2 separate regions of the Homo sapiens genome follow, and region 1 is linked to region 2. Evidence: promoter capture Hi-C in human tissues and cell types (Jung and others, 2019). All regions are on one chromosome and are shown on one strand. The core of a region is centred on a gene start or on the middle of the fragment in contact, and the rest is flanking DNA. Distances in the headings are between cores, read along the strand shown. Region 1 overlaps SCNN1G (sodium channel epithelial 1 subunit gamma). Region 2 holds the start of COG7 (component of oligomeric golgi complex 7).

The links. The method cuts DNA at HindIII sites, captures the fragments that hold promoters and counts their contacts. A contact is called where the count stands out against the background at its distance.
Region 1: a contact is called between a fragment that was not itself captured here and the fragment with the promoter of COG7 in region 2, in 1 of the 25 tissues and cell types used here (lymphoblastoid cells).

Annotation. Positions count from the first base shown.
Region 1 is chr16:23,192,595-23,195,683 of GRCh38, reverse strand. SCNN1G (sodium channel epithelial 1 subunit gamma) reads right to left here. Exons shown (of 13, transcript NM_001039.4): 5 at 1,410-1,513. Among named protein-coding and RNA genes, the nearest start is that of SCNN1G, 11 kb to the right of the region's middle. The HindIII fragment of the contact is 5,798 bases long and covers 1-3,089 here.
Region 2 is chr16:23,451,845-23,454,615 of GRCh38, reverse strand. It overlaps COG7 (component of oligomeric golgi complex 7), which reads left to right and starts at 1,427. Exons shown (of 17, transcript NM_153603.4): 1 at 1,427-1,790. The coding sequence starts at 1,622. It overlaps LOC124903667 (a long non-coding RNA gene), which reads right to left and starts at 1,873. Exons shown (of 2, transcript XR_007065030.1): 1 at 1,351-1,873. RefSeq lists enhancers at 1,098-1,147, 1,438-1,767. The HindIII fragment of the contact is 22,477 bases long and covers 1-2,771 here.

The DNA.
Region 1 (3,089 bases), core at 354-2,853, 260 kb after region 2:
TGCTTGAGGTCACACAGCCCCTCCATAGCAGAGCCAGTACTCTGCAACTTTTCACTTTCAGTTTCCAGATTACTTCTTCCCCATGAAATATGTGCACTGAATTATGATTTCTTGCAGACTTAGTAAGAGCACAGACTACACAGGGACAAAGGCCAGGATTCCAAGTGTGGATTTCCTTTATGACAGGCCCTCCCTTGTCCTGGTGCGAGTATATCTACATATCACATCATTTTCAATTTGCATGGGACCTTTCAAGAATTCCTTTTGGGCATAAGCCAGGCCAATCTGTTCAGTTCCTACCTTCCCTAGAAATGTAATCATAGTGGAATAGTAGTGCTGGAAATTGCAGTGGTATTATTTTGAGGGTAGTAGCAGCAGCAGCAATGGTGGTAGACTGGTAGCAATGCTAGTAACGGTAATAATAGCAGTAATAACAATAGCAACTAGCACTTATTGTGTGCTTGGTATGTGTTATGGCTGAATTGTTTTCTGCCTCAAATTCATATGTTGAAGCCCTAACCCCCAAAGGGATATTATTTTGAGATAGGACTTTAATTAAGGTGAAAGGAAGTCACAAGCAGGGGGCTCTAATCTGATAGGATTGATGTCCTGATCAGAAGAGGAAGAGACATCACAGGCCTCTCTCTGTTGACACACCACAGAGGAAAGGCCATCTGAGGACATGGAGAGAAGACAGCCAGCCTTCTGCAACCCAAAGAGAGAAGCCTCACCAGAACCGAGTCTGCCTGTGCCTTGATCTTAGACTTTCTAGTCTCCAAAACTGTGATAAATAAATGTCTACTGTCCAAGGCACCCAGTCTCTGGTATTTTGTTATGGCGGTCCAAGCAGACTAACAGAGTGCAGAGCAGGTCTTATTCTAAGTCTGTATCTTAAGTCCTGTCAGTAATCTCACATGGGAGATACTATTATTAGTCCCGCTTTATAGACGAAGCGCAGTAACTTGCCCAAGGTCACACAGTGAGTGGCCAAGCTGGGTTTCGGCTCCGTCCAGAATCTGTCACCTGAACTAAGATAAATGTGCGTCTACTTCCCTAATCTGTTCAGCATATCTGGGCTCAACTCCCTTTGGAAACCACCTGTCCTGCATTACTCACCCTAGCTATGAGTTTAAACCAGAGTAGTTCCCTAGCAGAAGGAACCCCAGTGATGTCCCTGTCGCTCTCTCAAAGATGGAAGAAAAGTCAAAAAGGAAAACAAACACTAACTTGGAAGGAAGGAACCAGCATGAACACTGATGGAAACACTGATAGAAAAAGGGGCATCCCTGGTTTCTGGCCAAGTGGGAGAGATCCCGCTTTTCCAGAGGGCTCCCGCATCCCCACTGTCCTGCTGCCCCCATGTCCACTATTGGAGGGCCTCAAGATCTCCTTGGCACAGGTTTCCTTACCATATTCGCTGCCCCCCATGGAGGTGCTGAGAATGGTCTCATTTTCTCTGTTGTTGAAAGTATAGCAATTCCCATGCATCGGGTGGTGGAAAAGCGTGAAATTCCTATGGAGGAAGAAAATGGGTCAGAAAGGGATCTCCCCCATGCATCTTAGCTGAAGTTGGGCAGGGCAGTGCTAATGGAGCCAACTCTCTTTGGGGAGAATGTGTGAGAGATGTGACTCATTTTCCCCATCTTGCTCCTGATCAAATGACAAACAAGGCCCCTCATCCTGGTTGACACACATGGACATAGAACTAGACTCTCTGCCTTCTGTTTTCTCTCGGAATCTTCTCACCTTCATCTCTATCCTGACTTGACATTCTTTGTGCCATGTCTGTCCCCAAATTCCTCCACTTTTGAATTTCTCAGCCAACACTTGACATTTTCCATTAAAATTCTCAGTCCTAGAAAATAATCCCCAGGGCATCATCTGTGCCCTTACATGACTTTGGAACCCAACTCTTAGGGAGACATGATTCCAGTTATTTACTTTTCACAAGAACCAATCTGTCTGCTAACATATACAGATAGGTGAAAGAGGCTTAGTGTTTTATTTTATTGTATTGTATTGTATTTTTATTTCTGAGATAGGGTCTTGCTCTTTTGCCCAGGCTGAAGTGCAGTGGCGCAATTATGGCTCACTGCAGCCTCAACCTCCCAGACTCAAGCAATCTTCCCACCTCAGCCTCCTGAGTAGCTGGGACTACAGGTGTGTGCCATTATGCCCAGATAAGTTTTTGAATTTTTTTTGTAGAAAGGAGGTTTTGCCACATTGCCCAGGCTGGTCTCGAACTCCTGAGCTCAAGCAATCATCTTCCTCAGCCTCCCAAAGTGCTGGCATTACAAGCGTGAGCCACTGTGCCCAGCCCAGGAACACTTTAGAATGTCTCACCCACTGCTCAGTCACTATAAGGGATCTGAGTGTTATCATAAAGGTGAAAGGTTTGAAATCTCACATATTTGAACATGGGCCTTTCTCCTCCCATCCCTCCCTCCATCTCTTCCTTCCTTCCTTAGAACGATGGTTCTTAGTCATCAGTATGCATGATGGTAATATACAAGGTTAGGTTATAGGCACACCATATGACAAAAACAGCAATTACTTTTGTGCCAATCTAATACCTTGTGGGTTGGGTTTTTTTTTTTTTTTTTTTTTTTTTTTTGAGACAAGAGTCTCACTCTGCAGCCCAGGCTTGAGTGCAGTAGTGCAATCTTGGCTTATTGCAACCTCCGCCTCCCGGGTTCAAGCGATTCTTCTGCCTCAGTCTCCTGAATAGCTGGGACTACAGGCATGCACCACCATGCCTGGCTAAGTTTTGTATTTTTAGTAGAGACGGGGTCTCGCTATGTTAGCCAGGCTGGTCTTGAACTCCTAGCCTCAAGTGATCCACCCACCCCAGCCTCCCAAAGTGCTGGGATTTAGAGGCGTGAACCACCATGCCTGGCCAACTACCTTGTTTTTAATGAGTAGTTTAATGAGTTTAAGGATATTTTGATTTTATGTCATGTATACCTCACTCACTGACTCTAGAACACAGCTCCCATGTAAGCAGTTTCCAAAAGGCAGCATCAGTGAGAAGAGCACCTTTTGCTCCCAAGACCTATCATCAAGGCTGTAGGTTCCTGCAAGGGGCCTGG
Region 2 (2,771 bases), core at 178-2,677:
TAACTGGGACTCCTAGCAGAAGGGTTACCCCAGTTAAAACCTACTCAACCCAGAAGAATGAGACAAACCAAGGGAGATGCCAATGAAAAACGAGTGACTATCAGGCCTGGAGATGGCAGCCAGCCACTCATACCCCAATGGCAGGCCAACCTGGAAAACTGTCCCCTGTAGGGTTTCCAAGGATGACATCTTGTCCTCCCCCTTGGGTTGGTCCCACTCTTGAAACAACATAAAAACTTAGAACCTAAAGAATACCCTCATACCTTCCCCTACCTTTTCTTCTTTTCTTTTCGAGACAGGGTCTCGCTCTGTCACCCAGGCTGGAGTGCAGTGGCGTGATCACAGCTCACTGCAGCCTCGACCTCCTGGGCTCAGGCAATCCTCTCACCCCAGCCTCTCGAGTAGCTGAGACTACAGGTGTGCGCCACCACACTCAGCTAATTTTTAATTTTTTTGCAGAGACGGGGTCTTCCTATGTTGCCCAGGCTGAGAAATTGTTTGTGATTATGGGTTATGCACAGATTTCTCAGCCGCAACACCAAAAGCATGATCCATAAAAAAAGGTGATAAGGAACTTAACAAACTTTAAAAGGTCTGCACCTCAAAACACATCATTAAGAAAATAATTAGTTAGGCCAGGCGCGGTGACTCACGCCTGTGATCCCAACACTTTGGGAGGCCGAGGCAGGCGGATCACCTGAGGTTGGGAGTTTGAGGCCAGCCTGGCCAGCGTGGTGAAACCCCATCTCTACTAATAATACAAAAAGTAGCCGGGCGTGGTGGCACGCGCCTGTAATCCCAGCTACTCGGGAGGCTGAGGCAAGACACTCGCTTGAACCTGGGAGGCGGAGGTTGCAGTGAGCCGAGATCGCGTCACTTCGCTCCAACCTGGGCGACAGAGCAAGACTCCGTCTCAGAAAAAAATAAAGAAAGAAAGAAAAAGAAAGAAATAGCCGGGCGTGTTGTCGCGCGCCTGTAGTCCCAGCTACTCTGGAGGCTGAGGTGGGAGGATCGCTGGAGCCCAGAAATTTGAGGCTGCAGTGAGCTGAGATCGTTCAATTGCCCAGGAATTTGAGGCTGTAGTGAGCAGAGATCGTTCAATTGCACTCCATTGCTGCCCACTGCGCTCCACTGTTGCCCAGGCTGTCCTAGAACTCCTGGCCTCAAGCGATTCTCCCGCGTCAGCTTCCTAAAGAGCTGGGATTACAGGCGCGAGCCACCGCGTAAATGCGCTAATGTATGTCAGGGCTTTATAGTAAGCATATAGTTTAGTCCTCGGCAAATGTTAGCAGACATGGGATATTTGTCGGTGCCGGGAGCTCTCAGTCCGGGGCGTTTTCCCACACCCACCTCTGCTCAGCGCTCCGGACGCCTGCAGTCACTATGGTAACGGCCAACGACTTCCGGAAGAAGAACGGCGGGCGGCGAGGGTCATTCCCAGCCGCAAACTGAGTGCGCTGAGCGGGGAAGCGCAAAGGGGCAAGTTACCCGTCCTGGCGTTTCTGGGGTTCGCCTCGGAGGCTAGCCTCGGTGCTCTCGCAGGCTCGCTCGCTTCTGCATCCCCGTTGCCGCCCGGAGCCAACTCTTAAGTTCTGGACGCCAGGCCTGAGGCAGTTCCGCCATGGACTTCTCCAAGTTCCTGGCAGACGACTTCGACGTGAAGGAGTGGATCAATGCGGCCTTCAGGGCCGGCTCCAAGGAGGCGGCGTCCGGGAAGGCGGATGGCCACGCAGCCACCCTGGTGATGAAGCTGCAGCTGTTCATCCAAGAGGTGAACCACGCCGTGGAGGGTGAGCCGCTCGGGGCCCTGGCCGCGGGACCCTCCCCTGCTCTCGGCTGGGCAGAGGTCACCGAACTTGCGTGAGGCACTCAGGTGGGCGGGGCACGCATGGACAGCAAATACCCTCGGCAAAAGAGCAAGCCCCGAACTCCTGATCACGTCAGCGGGAGTCTCAGCTGGGTGCCGGGCTGTCTTGAACACTTGCTAATTTTGGGTGTTGTTTTTCCTCCTCTGGCTGGGCTATAAGTTTCCTTTTTCTTTTCTTTCTTTCTCTTTGTTTTTTCTTTTGAAACAGGGTCTCTCTACAGTGGCTCGATCATAGCTCACTGCAGCCTCGAACTCCTGCACTCAAGCGATCCTCTCGCCTCTCGAGTCGCTAGGACTACAGGCGCGAGCCACCGCGCCCCACAAATTCTGTTTAAAAAAAAAATTGTAGAGATGGGATCTCACTGTGTTGCCAGGCTGGTCTCAAATTCAAATTCCTGGGCATAATGGGTTTTCCAGTCTTGGCCTCCCAAAGTACTGTGATTATACCTGTGAGCCACCACATCTGGCCTGAAGTTTCCTTTTGGAACTTAAAAGAGTGGATCTTATTGCAGTAGCTCTTCTCTAAATAATTCAATAGCAGATCTCTGGGATTCCCTTTTTATTATTATCCATAGGCACTGGAAGACAAGATGGATCTTTTTAAATGCTAGAAGTTTTAACCAGTTCTTAACATGTCTTTGTTGAGGCACCTTCCAGAATATAAGATAAAACAACTCCAGTTTCTGTTATAGTGACTTGAATCTCAGAGTCAAGAGCCCAGTGTCAAAGAAAATTGGCTTTGACTTTTTGTAATCTAGGAGCACGAGTCTGTGAGGTGTTTATTCAAAGAGTTAAAGAGCCTGTTTTGTACCAAACAATAAACTGTAAAAAGAAAAAAAAAGTGAATTTTGAGAGTATGAAAGAATAGCCAACAGATCCATATATCTGGAAAAAACGTATTATA